Linked DNA regions of Homo sapiens: regions 2 and 3 are each linked to region 1. The links are contacts of gene promoters, found by promoter capture Hi-C in human tissues and cell types (Jung and others, 2019). All regions are on one chromosome and are shown on one strand. Each heading gives the region's core, a stretch centred on a gene start or on the middle of the fragment in contact. The rest is flanking DNA. Distances are from core to core; before and after follow the strand shown. Region 1 holds the start of NACC2 (NACC family member 2). Region 2 overlaps RXRA (retinoid X receptor alpha). Region 3 holds the start of TUBB4B (tubulin beta 4B class IVb).

The links. The method cuts DNA at HindIII sites, captures the fragments that hold promoters and counts their contacts. A contact is called where the count stands out against the background at its distance.
Region 2: a fragment that was not itself captured here is called in contact with the fragment with the promoter of NACC2 in region 1 in 1 of the 25 tissues and cell types used here (lymphoblastoid cells).
Region 3: a contact is called between the fragment with the promoter of TUBB4B here and the fragment with the promoter of NACC2 in region 1, in 1 of the 25 tissues and cell types used here (spleen).

What each region holds. Positions count from the first base shown.
Region 1 is chr9:136,093,034-136,097,870 of GRCh38, forward strand. NACC2 (NACC family member 2) reads right to left here and starts at 2,256. Exons shown (of 6, transcript NM_144653.5): 1 at 2,156-2,256. RefSeq lists an enhancer at 272-963 and silencers at 2,169-2,298, 2,619-2,718. The HindIII fragment of the contact is 19,137 bases long and covers 1-4,837 here.
Region 2 is chr9:134,436,502-134,441,338 of GRCh38, forward strand. It overlaps RXRA (retinoid X receptor alpha), which reads left to right. Exons shown (of 10, transcript NM_002957.6): 10 at 1-4,084. The coding sequence ends at 113. Among named protein-coding and RNA genes, the nearest start is that of MIR4669, 60 kb to the left of the region's middle. RefSeq lists an enhancer at 461-1,029. The HindIII fragment of the contact is 5,892 bases long and covers 1-4,837 here.
Region 3 is chr9:137,238,338-137,243,174 of GRCh38, forward strand. It overlaps TUBB4B (tubulin beta 4B class IVb), which reads left to right and starts at 2,950. Exons shown (of 4, transcript NM_006088.6): 1 at 2,950-3,080; 2 at 3,384-3,492; 3 at 3,574-3,684; 4 at 4,159-4,837. The coding sequence starts at 3,024. RefSeq lists silencers at 1,975-2,794, 3,125-3,354. The HindIII fragment of the contact is 17,682 bases long and covers 1,505-4,837 here.

The sequences.
Region 1 (4,837 bases), core at 1,006-3,505:
ACTCGGTGCCCTGTGCGTTCCAGGGACACAGGTCAGAGGCACAGACCTCAGAGGAAGGGGCACAAGGTGGAACCTTGGGAACTCAACATCCCGAAAAGGACAACACCTTGGTTCCCCATTCCATCCCTCGGGCCTGGGAGACCACACTGCCCACAAACCAGGAAAGCAGGACTCCGGAGGCAGAGGCCAAGAGGAGTGCAGGCCTGGAAGAACCGCTCAGCACCAAGATCGTCACTGTTGTTTCATGAATAATGCAGCCTCATGCTTTAATTGGAAAACAAAGGGAGGATTGAAGAATTTTTTAAAAGTCACCACTAGCCCCCTGCCCAGGGCAGAGCAGCCCTGCGAACCCTTCCAGCAGCCGGTGGTAAAGAACAGAGCCTGTTCTCGCAGCCTGTAGCAGCCCAGCTCCCACTGCTCCCAGCAGGAGATCTCCCGGGTGGCTCCTCCCCGCCTTCCCGCCAGGCCAGGGCCAGCACCATCGAGCCCTGGGTGTGACCACTGCGAAAGGATCCCTGGCCACTAAGAAGTGACAAGTGATATCTTGTTCCACTCTCTGTGCCCATTCCAAGTGGCTTTGCCGAAAGGACAGGGGGCCACCACCTTGGGTGGCAGCTCCTTTTATTTCCTCCCCTTGGACTCTGGCCCAGCTACCACCCAACAGTGACCCCAGGGGAAAACGCCAAGAGGCCTCTTTAAGGGAGGGGCTGGGAAAGGCCCCACAGAGGACCAGAGGGGTGCTCCAACGGTGGCCGGGAGAAGAAGGGGTGGGTGGCTGAGAGGTGGCGGGTGGGGCGGGGGCTGCCTGAACCCTGACCTAACTCTAGGCGCCCCTGCTGGGGGGTGCTACAGGCTAAAACACCCTGCAGAATGCTGAGCTGAGTGTCCCACTGGAGAACAGGAGGGAAGGAGGTCAGGAGCCTGCCAGACGAAAAGAGGGGTGGGTGAGAAGAAGGGGCGACCTGGAGGGACACGGACTCTGGCAGGAGAGTGCGGCCGCGCTGGCGGGCGGGAACACCAAGGTGCACGCGCTCCCGGAGGCAGCTCCACGGGATGGGAGTCCGGGCTGCCTTGGGCACCCCCGGGTCAGCACCCCCGCCACACACAGGAAGGAACGCGCAGCAGAGAACACAGCTCAGGGCACCCAGCGGCCCAGGGAGACGGGCCCACCAGCACGTGGGTGAAACACCTCCAATCCGGAGGCCCCGCGCGGGGGTTGGGGGAGGGAGTGGAACGGCCTGGGAGGCCAACTCCAGGGACCCGGCCTCGCGGCCTTCAGACCCACAGGTTTAAGCGGCTCCACGACGAGAGTCCAAGACCAAACTTCCCCCAGAGCCTGGCAGAGGGGCTGGGAGGTGACCTCTGACCTCCGACCCCACACGATCCCAGCAAGAGAAGCAGGAAACTCCGTCGGAAGGCCTCGGTCCGCCCTGGCCGTGCGGGGTGCGCGGCGGGCCCCGGGCTCCGCTGAGTTTCTTAGAGAAGGAGCTGGGGCCCCCCGACCTCAGCTCCGCAGAGGCACAGAAGCTGGCAAGAGGCAGAGCCCCCTCCCCCTGCGGCCGGACCCCAGTTTCTCCCCAGGCTGGGGCCCGAGTGGGGGAGGCGCGGGAGGCGGTGACGACCCACGAACGGGCCCACCTGGACCGGGAGGGCGAGGCGCGGGCCCGGCTGGGCCAGGCAGCTGCGCAGATGCGCCGGGAGGGGTGGGTACCTCCGCCCTGGCCCCGGGCCAGTCCTGCCCCGGCTTCCCCACCCGGAGGGCTGGATCGGCCAGTCGGGTCCCTGGGGAGGCCGCGCGGGTCCCCAGAAATCCAGGGAAACCCAGCAGGCGGCGGGGAGCGCCCCGGGACGCCCGGAGCCGGGGTCTCCCCGAACGCGCGGCGCGGCGTCCCGGCCCGGGGTCGCGGGCGCCTCCGCCGGGACCCCCCGGCCCCGCCCGGCCCCCCTCCGCGGGCTCCCGAGGCCGGTTCCCGCGCGCACGCCCGGGCCGGCGCGGAACTCGGCCGCACCCGCCCCGCGCGGCCGGCACTGCGGCAGGGGGCTCGCGCCAAGTTGGGCGGCCGCGGAGTTTGCGGGAAGTGCGGGCCCGGCCCGTGGGACGACCCCGCCCGGCGGCGTAACCCGGGGGCGGCCGCGCGCGCCAAGTTGGCGGTACCTGCGGGCGCCCGGCCCGGTCCGGCCTGGGCAGCTGCGGCGCGCCGCCCGCGGCAGGAAGTGCTTGGCGTCCCGGCGCTCCGGCTCCCATGGACTTTCTCCGACCTCGCCCAGCACCGGCGGCCGCACCGCGGCGGGGGCGGGGCGGCGGCGGGGGAGGTGCCCGCGGGCCGTTAAAGGGACAGCGCGCCGGCCGCGCGCGCGCGCGCACTGGCAGCCAGGTGGGCTCCCGGGGTCGGGGCTGGGGTCCGGGGGCCGGGAGGGTCCCCAGTGGGGGCCGGCGGGGCGTGGGGAACCCCGAGCGCTGGGGAGGGGAGGCGGCAGCTCCTCGCCCCTCGCGCGTCCTCCTTCCGGAGCTGCCGGCGGTCGACCCTGCGCGGGACACCCGGCGGGAGCCGGACGCCGCGGCGCAGAGGACGGAGCTCGGCGGCCGGGTCGGGAAAGGACCTGGAGCGCCGCCCTCCGCCCTCCCCGGGCCCCGGCCTCGGCCGGACTCGCTAAGCCCGGGAGAGCCCCCGGGCCCCCCTACCCCGCCCCCGGCGCGCGCCCTGCCCGCGGCAGTCGCGTCCGCACGGTGCAGCCTCCGGGATCCGGGCGGGGGAAGTGCGCGCATCCGCAGCCGCCCTGGACGCTCAGGCGGGCCGTGAAAGACGAGGATACGGGAGCGCCCTTGGGCGAACGTCTGCGGGGCTCCGGCGCCCGTCCCTGCGGCCCGGGAACTGCAAGCTGCCTGGACTGGGCCTGGCGCTGCCTTCAGGCCTGGTGTGATCCGGGCGCACTGGGGCGTTGACAGTCATTCCGGCACCGGCCACGCAGCTCTCCATCTGCCCAAGGCCACGCTCCTGAGGACAGAGGTGCAGTTTTAAAACAAGGGCACGGAAATAAAACGGCCACACACCCGGAAAGACCCAGAGACCCCTCCTCAGCTGCCCCCTAACCTGGGGCCTGAGGTCAGGACAGGCTGCAGTGGTCCTCAGAGGCTAAGCCAGCCTCACTCCCACAGCACGCTCAAGGGTCCTTGCAGGAGAATGGAGTGATACCGCCTCAGTGGTCCCGAGCGAGGGCGCTGGGAGAAGGGTTGAGAAGGAGATGGCCACCAGCATCCCAGAGAACGCCTTTGGGGCTCTGGGGATCAGAAACCTGGGGCTACAGCCCTTCTGGCACAGTCAGCCAAGGTCATTCCCTGGACAAATCATCAGAAGCTTGGCCAGGTTCTTGTCACCCCAACCTCAAGCTAGGCCCTTGATCTTGGCCACAGACTGGCCCTTGACCCCAACTTTAGGTTCTATTCAGCTCTGCGTCCAGAACACACACACACACACACACACACACTTCACTCCCTGGCTTGCCTTGTATGGGGGTGAGTATGGAACCCCGCAGGGACTCTGGGCTCTCCCCACAGAGTCCCATCTAGACCTAAATGCAGTCCCAGGTCCCACACCCCAACCCCCCTCCCCCCACCACTGCCACTTCCAAACCCGCCCCGCAGTCTACTGTGGGAAGGAGGTGGGGTAGGAGGGTTCTGAGTGCCTCCTACACCCAGGGCATGAGCTCAGCAGCCTCAGGGTTCTGGTGCTTCCTAGGCCTGACTTTACAATCTCTGCAGGATCTCTCAGTGAGCATAGCTACCCCAAGCCCCTGAGAATCGTGAATCCCAGAGACAGATGCCTGGAGCTGCTTCCAGCCCTGGGGCAGGCCTCAAGGGGCTACCCACTAGGACCCGTGGCCCTCCAGGGATGGGAATGATTGTTTTAATCACTTTTATTTTCTAAATATTAAAGACATTCTTCCTTAGTGAAGGATATTTGGAAAGCATTGAAAAGTGTTTAGAAGATAGCGGATAAGCAGAAATCAATTCCCCAATTTCTGTGTGCCTATACGTATGTACACCAACATATATTTGCACCTTTTAAAGCAAACCCTGCATCCCTACTGAATTCCAGGCCCGTGCTACTGAGTATGTACACCTTACCGCATTTAACGTTCACAACAGTACCATGAGGTGAGCTCTGTTTATTCCTTTTTTTTTTTTTTTTTTTGAGTCCGAGTCTCACACTGTTGCCCAGGCTGGGGTGCAGTGGCGCGATCTCAGCTCACTGTAACCTCTGCCTCCCGGGTTCAAGCGATTCTCCTGCCTCAGCCTCCCGAGTAGCTGGCATTATCGGCACGTGCCACCACGCCCAGCTAATTTTTGTATTTTTAGTAGAGACGGGGTTTCACCATGTTAGGCAGGCTGGTCTTGAACTCCTGACCTCAGGTGATCCACCTGCCTCAACCTCCCGAAGTGCTGGGATCACAGGTGTGAGCCACTGCGCCCAGCCTTATTCCCGTTTTACAGCTTAGCCTGGGGCTCACTCAGGGGTCCCCAGCAGGGCCTGGGCTGAGTGGGGCTCACCCCGGGTGCATCCTCCGCATCTCCTCCCTGCATTTGATCTTGTTGATTCCTGGCTGCTACAAGGGCCTGGGGGCCACAGTCTCAACTGAGCATAGCAGCACCGCTGCTATGGGTCTCCAGCTCAGGGAGGCCCCATCCGGGATCCAGGCCTGAGTTCTCACGGCCTTGCAACTTGATTTTTCCCCTTCCATCCAGAAAGCATTGGGCAGGGGGTAAGGGGAGGTCACAAGCCACATCTGCAGACACTGCAGAGCCCCTGGGTGCGCTCAGGAGTCATACACAGAGGAC
Region 2 (4,837 bases), core at 644-3,143, 1.7 Mb before region 1:
GCTCCATCGGGCTCAAATGCCTGGAACATCTCTTCTTCTTCAAGCTCATCGGGGACACACCCATTGACACCTTCCTTATGGAGATGCTGGAGGCGCCGCACCAAATGACTTAGGCCTGCGGGCCCATCCTTTGTGCCCACCCGTTCTGGCCACCCTGCCTGGACGCCAGCTGTTCTTCTCAGCCTGAGCCCTGTCCCTGCCCTTCTCTGCCTGGCCTGTTTGGACTTTGGGGCACAGCCTGTCACTGCTCTGCCTAAGAGATGTGTTGTCACCCTCCTTATTTCTGTTACTACTTGTCTGTGGCCCAGGGCAGTGGCTTTCCTGAGGCAGCAGCCTTCGTGGCAAGAACTAGCGTGAGCCCAGCCAGGCGCCTCCCCACCGGGCTCTCAGGACACCCTGCCACACCCCACGGGGCTTGGGCGACTACAGGGTCTTCGGGCCCCAGCCCTGGAGCTGCAGGAGTTGGGAACGGGGCTTTTGTTTCCGTTGCTGTTTATCGATGCTGGTTTTCAGAATTCCTGTGTGGCCCTCCTGTCTGGAGTGACATCTTCATCTGCTCTGAATACTGGTGCCCAGCCAGCCCGTGACAGCTTCCCCCTAATCAGGAGGGGACAGCTGGGGGCGCAAGCTGGTGTGTCATCAGCAAAGACCTCAGCCGCCTCGGGGATGAGAGGGGACTCGTGGGGCAAGCAAGCTGCCCTGTGCTCTGAGTGAGGGGGAAGGTAGCCCCTTTTTCCAAAGATAACTCACAGTTTTGCCCTCGAGCCAATGAGAACATGAGCTGCCCTCTGTGCAAGGTTTCGGGGCCACCTCCAGGCTGCAGGGGCGGGTCACTCACCCCCCTGTTTTCTCTCTGCCTTGGTGTTCTGGTTTCAGACTCCCGACTCCCCGTTCAGACCAGAGTGCCCCGGCCCCTCCCCAGCCTGAGTCTTCTCCTTGCTCTGCGGGGTGGGCTGAGGCTTGTCCTTGTTTCCTGCAGGGCTGGCCCTGGCTCGGGCAGGGTGGGGCATCACCACCTCACTGGCCTTGCTGGAGGCACAGGGCTCTGCGGACCTGCAGCCATCTGTGAGGCCCGCGGGGATGGGAGGGGAGGAGGGTGGCCTGTTGGTTTCCCTCAGAGGGGGCAGGTGGCCTGGAGAGAGAGGGGCTCAGGAACTGGGAGCCTCGTGGGTGGGGCAGATGCTCCGCGGCCTGGAGTGGCTCTGCCGGGGCATTGGTGGGACCCCTGCTCAGGCCTTCTCTCTGGCTGCCAGTTGTGTCTAAAAGACTCTTGGAATCTGAGAACCCGGAGTCGCAGCGCCCTCGGGCCTGGGCCACACGCAGGCCCTGGTGGGACCACCCAGCCTGGTATTGTCCACGGACAGCGTTGTTCACCCAGAGCCTTACTTGGGAGCCTCACTGAACGCCTGCTCTGGTTGAAGGTGGGGTGGGGGCGGGGCTTGGGGCCTCCCTGGCTCAGCCCAGTGCGGCCTGGCGCTCCTCCCGCAGGCTCTGCCCCCGGGCTCCGGTGGTGCGGGGCCCTCTCAGGTTGAACTCGCCTCTTTTGCACTGGAAGGCCCTCCCTTTGGCCTGAGTACTTTTCCCGTTCACGCCTCAGTCCCGTGGACCCAGCCTTTGTCAGTGGCAGGTGCCTGAACAGAGGGTGGATGGGGGGGATACCGGAGGGGGTCTTGTCTTCCCAGCCGCAGTCTAGGAATGATGCGGGGGGGTGGACGCCTTCTCCATAGTCTTTCCCCACCTGGAGCAGGGGCTTCCTCAGTGGTGAGGGGAGCTGCCTACAGGTTGGACCGGGAGGCAGTGGCTTGGAGAGGCAGCTTTCCAGCCTTGGTGGGGAAGAAAGTGTCCATTCTTTGCCTTCCTGGAGCTCCCAGCCAGAGCTGAGCTTAGGCACCCGAGTGGAGCCTGCAGCTGAGTCTGTGCCCGAGACAGGCTGTCAGAGATTCCAGAAGCCTCTCCTCCCCGCCGCCCTCCACCCCTGCCTTTCAGCGTTGTGGATCCCTAGAGGTGGCCCCCTGCCCGATCCACCGTCCTGAGGCAGAGTGTTGAGCCTCATACCTGTACCAGGTCCCCGGCCAGCTGGGCCCCTCCCAGGCACTGCCAGGAAGCCCCAGCTGCCCCTGGCGGGTGTGGTGGAAATGGCAGGAGGGTGCAGGTACTCTTGGGGCCCCAGCGGTGGGAGTGCAAAAGACCCAACGCCAACACCTGGTGCCTTCTGCAGCCAGCGCCCACCCATCCGTGCCCGGACCCTTGGGAATGCCCGCGGCTCCAGAGGAAAAAGCCCAGGGACGGGGCCTCCGTTGCGGGGGGTCGGCTGCTTCTTGGGAACTTTGTCGTTTCCGGCGCTGGCTGGCTGGCTGGCTGGCTGTAAAGCACTGAAGCCCCCCGGCCGCCAACCCCTGAAAGCAGAACCTGGCCTCCCTGGCCACAGCAGCCTTACCCACCGCTCTACGTGTCCCGGGCACTTCCCGCAGCCTTCCCGTCCCTTTCTCATCGGCCTTGTAGTTGTACAGTGCTGTTGGTTTGAAAAGGTGATGTGTGGGGAGTGCGGCTCATCACTGAGTAGAGAGGTAGAATTTCTATTTAACCAGACCTGTAGTAGTATTACCAATCCAGTTCAATTAAGGTGATTTTTTGTAATTATTATTATTTTGGTGGGACAATCTTTAATTTTCTAAAGATAGCACTAACATCAGCTCATTAGCCACCTGTGCCTGTCCCCGCCTTGGCCCGGCTGGATGAAGCGGCTTCCCCGCAGGGCCCCCACTTCCCAGTGGCTGCTTCCTGGGGACCCAGGGCACCCCGGCACCTTCAGGCACGCTCCTCAGCTGGTCACCTCCCGGCTTTGCCGTTCAGATGGGGCTCCTGAGGCTCAGGAGTGAAGATGCCACAGAGCCGGGCTCCCCTAGGCTGCGTCGGGCATGCTTGGAAGCTGGCCTGCCAGGACCTTCCACCCTGGGGCCTGTGTCAGCCGCCGGCCCTCCGCACCCTGGAAGCACACGGCCTCTGGGAAGGACAGCCCTGACCTTCGGTTTTCCGAGCACGGTGTTTCCCAAGAATTCTGGGCTGGCGGCCTGGTGGCAGTGCTGGAGATGACCCCGAGCCCCTCCCCGTGGGGCACCCAGGAGGGCCCTGCCGGAATGTGCAGCCTGTGGGTAGTCGGCTGGTGTCCCTGTCGTGGAGCTGGGGTGCGTGATCTGGTGCTCGTCCACGCAGGTGTGTGGTGTAAACATGTATGTGCTGTACAGAGAGACGCGTGTGGAGAGAGCCGCACACCAGCGCCACCCAGGAAAGGCGGAGCGGTTACCAGTGTTTTGTGTTTATTTTTAATCAAGACGTTTCCCCTGTTTTCCTATAAATTTGCTTCGTGTAAGCAAGTACATAAGGACCCTCCTTTGGTGAAATCCGGGTTCGAATGAATATCTCAAGGCAGGAGATGCATCTATTTTAAGATGCTTTGGAGCAGACAGCTTTAGCCGTTCCCAATCCTTAGCAATGCCTTAGCTGGGACGCATAGCTAATACTTTAGAGAGGATGACAGATCCATAAAGAGAGTAAAGATAAGAGAAAATGTCTAAAGCATCTGGAAAGGTAAAAAAAAAAAATCTATTTTTGTACAAATGTAATTTTATCCCTCATGTATACTTGGATATGGCGGGGGGAGGGCTGGGACTGTTTCGTTTCTGCTTCTAGAGATTGAGGTGAAAGCTTCGTCCGAGAAACGCCAGGACAGACGATGGCAGAGGAGAGGGCTCCTGTGACGGCGGCGAGGCTTGGGAGGAAACCGCCGCAATGGGGGTGTCTTCCCTCGGGGCAGGAGGGTGGGCCTGAGGCTTTCAAGGGTTTTCTTCCCTTTCGAGTAATTTTTAAAGCCTTGCTCTGTTGTGTCCTGTTGCCGGCTCTGGCCTTCCTGTGACTGACTGTGAAGTGGCTTCTCCGTACGATTGTCTCTGAAACATCGTGGCCTCAGGTGCCAGGGTTTGATGGACAGTAGCATTAGAATTGTGGAAAAGGAACACGCAAAGGGAGAAGTGTGAGAGGAGAAACAAAATATGAGCGTTTAAAATACATCGCCATTCAGTTCGTTTGTTCCGTGTGGGGACTTTTTTGTTTGGAGCGGGAGGGCCCGCGATCAGCCCCCACCAGCCCACCCTCCTGTCCACCCTACCTGCCGGTCCTGTGCGGCGAGGCTGGCATCCTCTGTGGGCCATACTCTTGAGAGTTCTCTCCCTGTCCACTGGGCTCTGCTGCTCCTCCAAGGGGCAGGGGGCTGGGGCCTCCGTGAGGGCACCTCTCAGCAGCCGTGGGCACTGGGCCTGTGGGCGCCTGCGGAGCACGAGTGTTCCCACCTGTCCCTCCCCAGGCTGCCTAAGCATCCACGCCTCTGCAGCCACGCTGGCCCAGATGGGCAGGAGGTGCACCCAGAGGGCCAAGGAACACACGATGTCACCCAGCTGCCCCAATAACAACAAGTTAATGATGCCCCATCTGCATTGTCTCCTGTGATAAACGCCCTCTGTCTCCATGCTGTCTGGGGCTGGGCTGCTCCCGGCCTGGTTTGGTCTTCGTGCCCGGAGCCCTCTCATGCACCTGTGTCCAGCCAGGCACCCTCCCCGAGAGGCACCAGACACACTGAAGATGGGGAGTGGGGCTCTGAAGGTCCAGGTCCTGCCCTGTGGTGGTGGGCAGAGGACAGTGTGGCCTGTGCCCAGAGCTAGGGTGGCTCCCGGGTGAGACTTAAAATGGAACGGCCTGCCACCTGAAAGGCAGGGACTTCCTGATGGCACTCCCCTCATGAGCACACACACATTCACACACGTGCATACTCAAACACGGGCAC
Region 3 (4,837 bases), core at 1,700-4,199, 1.1 Mb after region 1:
CCAGGCCCAGGAGTTGGTCCTCCTGCCCCACACTATCCCGCCTCTCCATCCTGCAGCAGGGCACCTTGGCTCAGGGTGGGACCTACAGAGCCTTCCCCAACCAGTTTTGTGCAACAGGGGTGGCTGCTGTCCTTGTTGGGCTCAGGCCCAGGCTTCAGGGTGTCTACTGCTGTCTTGTCCCCAGCCAGTGTCCACCTCACCAGGGCAATGCAAGGGCAAAGTAGGCAAGCTGGTGCCATGGCGAGCTCTGGGGCTCTCACCTGGGCAGGTGACACCTGTGAAACGGGTGGCACACTGACCTCCCAGCCCTGTGGGCACTGGTCACAGGAAGCAGGGGCCTTTACTGGAGAGGGGTTGGGAGACTCTGACAAGGTGCAGGAATGCCACACACCTCAAAGAGCAGCCTCAGTTGGGCTCTGCACAGTTCACTGAGGAAAAAAACAGAGCTTCTCCTTCTCCCCTTTGTGACAACTCAATGTTATGAGACTCCAACATGTCCCTGACTACTGCCTGGACAGCTGAGCTACTCTGCAGGACCCCAGGATGCCCTGGGCACTAGGAGAAACCTGGGATGGCTGGCAGCAACCTGTGCACCCCTCAGGCCGCTGCAGGACCCCAGTCCCTCTGAGGGTCAAGGCCTGTGTCACAGTGGTCACTGGAAGCCAGGCCCGCCTTCCTGGGCTGATCTGTGGGGGAGGCCACCCTCCTGGACAGGATGGCAAACTGGCAACAGACCCCCGAGGAGTGAGCACAGCTGCAGGCCCTCGCCCCAGAAGGACAATGCTGATCCCCGCGCATGCTCCGGTGCTGCGTGTCCCGAGTTCTGGTATCGCGCATTATGTGGTGAAGACAGAGGTGCAGTCCCTCCAGGAAGAGAGAAATAAATAAGCAGATGTTGTTTCCAACAGCCTCCAATTGGGAGACAGATGCCCAGTGGCCAGAGCACAGGAGACTGTCAGGGCCGACCTGATGGTGTAATTTATTTAAAATGCTACAAAAATACAGCCAGGTGCAGTGGCTCATGCCTGTAATCCCAGCACTTTGGGAGGCCGAGGCGAATGAATCACAAGGTCAGTTCCAGACCAGCCTGGCCAAGATGGTGAAACCCCATCTCTATTAAAAATACAGAAATTAGCCGGGCGTGGTGGCGGGCGCCTGTAATCCCAGCTACTCGGGAGGCTGAGGCAGGAGAATCGCTTGAACCCGGGAGATGGAGGTTGCAGTGAGCCGAGATCATGCCACTGCACTCCAGCCTGAGCGACGGAGCCAGACTCTGTCTCAAAAAAAAAAAAAAAAAAAAATAGCCAGGCGTGGTGGTGCACACCTGTAGTTCCAGCTACTTGGGAAGGTGAGGCAGGCGAATTGCTTGAACCGGGGAGGCAGAGGTTGCAGCGAGCTGAGATTGCGCCACTGCACTCCAGCCTAGGCGACAAGAGCAAAACTCCATCTCAAAAAAAAAAGAAAAAAGCTACAAAAATGTAGAAGGCACGGCGGCTCATTCCCGTAAATCCGAGCACTTGGGGAGGCCGAGGCGGGCGGATCACTTGAGGTCAGGAGTTTCAGACCAGCTTGGCCAACATGGTGAAATCCCATTTCTACCAAAAATACAAAAATTAGCGGCGTGGTGGTGGGTGCCTGCAGTCCCACCTACTGGGGAGGCTGAGGCAGAAGAATCGCTTGAACCTGGGGGGGGGCGGGGAGCCAAGATCGCGCCACTGCACTCCAGCCCGGGAGACAGAGCGAGACTCTGTCTCAGAATAATAAATTAAGTAAAATAAAAATGCTGCAAAAATACAGCCCGTTTGTTTTTAAACAGGCGCAACCACATGTAATTCATTTTAAGTTTCTTTTCCCACCCAAGTAAAAATCAAGTCATAAATTAGGAAAAGCATTAACAGAAGTATGTTTCAGCCCCAGCGCGCTGACCTGTGGTTGGAATACCGGCCCTGGAGCCCGGAGGTCGGGGCCCACCCGCCGAGGGAGGTCTGGGCGCTGTCCTGGTCTCCACGGAGCTCGCGCACTCACGGGGCCGAGGCACCAAGGCGACCGGCGCAGAGCCAGCGCCGTCTCCACAACAGGGCAGGGCGCGCAGCTGCGGGGGAGGCCTCGCCCCTCCGCTCCCCTCCCCTGCCCTCCGCCCCGGCCCTCGGGGCGCGGCGTCCCCCACGTGCTCCCCTCACGCGACCGCGAGGGCAGTGGGCGTGCGGCACCCGGGAGCAGGAAACTCCGTGGCCTCTGCGGCTCTGTGGAGAGCTCCCCTCCACCGCCGCAGCCCCCGAGCCCGTGTATCTTCCTGCCTTTAAGGCATCGCAGCCTCCTCGGCCTGGAGGCCCCGGGCTCGCTCCGTGCGGACCCCGCTCCAGAACCCGCCCAGCGCGCAGATGCCGTGTCCCGGCGCAAGGCCAGAGAGGGCGCAACTCTGGACGTGGGGCCGCCACCGAGCCTGCCCTTCCCGGCTCCCGAAAGGCCCCGGGCTCAGAGCCAAGACTGCGCTTGCCCGAGGCCCGTCGGGCCCGCCCTCCCTCGGCGCCCCCAGCGCAGCTGCCCGCCGCCCGACCGGAAGCCCGCACTCGCGCCTGCGCCCCACCCCGTCCGCGCGCCGGCCGCGGCACTGCGGCGGTTACCAGGACGCTGAAGCAGCGCAGCCAATAGCGCCAGCCTGGCGGCGTGCTCCCGGCAGCCAGCCAATGAGACGGCAAATCAATCATTTGAAACACCCAATGGACGGAGCACTGCGGCGCCAGGAGGGGGATTGTGATAGGGAGATAGGAGGCTGCGGCTGACCAATAAAGACCAAACTGGCTTAAAAAGGCGGACCTTAGGCAGCTTGATTGACGGGGGCAAGGCCAATCAAACGAGGGAGCTTGCCAGCCTCGTTCTGGCAGCCCATTCCGAGACTAGCGGAGGCGGGCAGGGAGGGTATATAAGCGTTGGCGGAGCGTCGGTTGTAGCACTCTGCGCGCCCGCTCTTCTGCTGCTGTTTGTCTACTTCCTCCTGCTTCCCCGCCGCCGCCGCCGCCATCATGAGGGAAATCGTGCACTTGCAGGCCGGGCAGTGCGGCAACCAAATCGGCGCCAAGGTAAGTTGCCGGGGCGCTGGGGCCAGGCGGGCCTGCCGGGCGGTGTGGGCGGGCGGCCGGGGAAGATGGCGGCAGCAGCGGCCGGGCGGCGCCCCCGCATTGCGGCCGCCGGGCCCCCTCCGCGGGGAATTGGCCGAGCCGGGCGACCGAAGCCCCCAGGAACCCGGCGGCCAGGGCGCGCGGGGCGGGGGAGGGGCGGGGAGGGCCGGGCTGCCGCGCCCGTCCGGGGCGGGGCTGCCTCCCTGCGCACCGGCCGCGGTGACTCAGCCCCGGCCCGCCCGGGCCCGCCCGCGTCCCTTGTAGTTTTGGGAGGTGATCAGCGATGAGCACGGCATCGACCCCACGGGCACCTACCACGGGGACAGCGACCTGCAGCTGGAACGCATCAACGTGTACTACAATGAGGCCACCGGTGAGGCCCCGGCCCCTTCCCCGACCGCCCTCCGGGGACCCCGCGGCCCCTGCCTTGGCTGACGCCCTCCCGTCCCCGCAGGCGGCAAGTACGTGCCCCGCGCCGTGCTCGTGGATCTGGAGCCCGGCACCATGGACTCCGTGCGCTCGGGGCCCTTCGGGCAGATCTTCCGGCCGGACAACTTCGTTTTCGGTGAGCCGTGGCTGGGGACTGGGCGGCGGCTCAAAGGTCAAGGGGCTGCTCCAAGGGCACCGCCGTGGGAACTGCGCAGCCGGGGCCCCTGGACGCCCTCCTCTTCTCTGAGCCACTCAATCCCCTCTACTAAATCGGCTTTGGGAGCAAGGTCCAGCTGTCTGCCGAGGCGAGGAGCCGCCACACACGTAATCTCCCTGCAGGGAGCTGAGCTGGGGCAGTGGCTGTTCCTCTGTCCTTGGGAATTGGCAGTGGCCCCCCCGGGGAGGGGTTTGTTAAGCTGTCAGGTTTGGCCCCTGACTTAATTCGTAGCAGGGCAGGCTGCCGTCTTTTGGCTTTGAAGGGTCCGTTTGCTCTACCTCCAGGGTGAATTCTGTGGTCAGCTCACACCATGTCACTCGGCTTTTTTCGCATGGCGGTGACCAGTAGTGCTGTCTACCTGGCTGACAAATGATTAGCTGTGTTCTCTCACAGGTCAGAGTGGTGCTGGGAACAACTGGGCCAAGGGGCACTACACAGAAGGCGCGGAGCTGGTGGACTCGGTGCTGGATGTTGTGAGAAAGGAGGCTGAGAGCTGTGACTGCCTGCAGGGTTTCCAGCTGACCCACTCCCTGGGTGGGGGGACTGGGTCTGGGATGGGTACCCTCCTCATCAGCAAGATCCGGGAGGAGTACCCAGACAGGATCATGAACACGTTTAGTGTGGTGCCTTCGCCCAAAGTGTCAGACACAGTGGTGGAGCCCTACAACGCCACCCTCTCAGTCCACCAGCTCGTAGAAAACACAGACGAGACCTACTGCATTGATAACGAAGCTCTCTACGACATTTGCTTCAGAACCCTAAAGCTGACCACGCCCACCTATGGTGACCTGAACCACCTGGTGTCTGCTACCATGAGTGGGGTCACCACCTGCCTGCGCTTCCCAGGCCAGCTCAATGCTGACCTGCGGAAGCTGGCTGTGAACATGGTCCCGTTTCCCCGGCTGCACTTCTTCATGCCCGGCTTTGCCCCACTGACCAGCCGGGGCAGCCAGCAGTACCGGGCGCTGACCGTGCCCGAGCTCACCCAGCAGATGTTTGATGCCAAGAACATGATGGCTGCCTGCGACCCCCGCCATGGCCGCTACCTGACGGTTGCCGCCGTGTTCAGGGG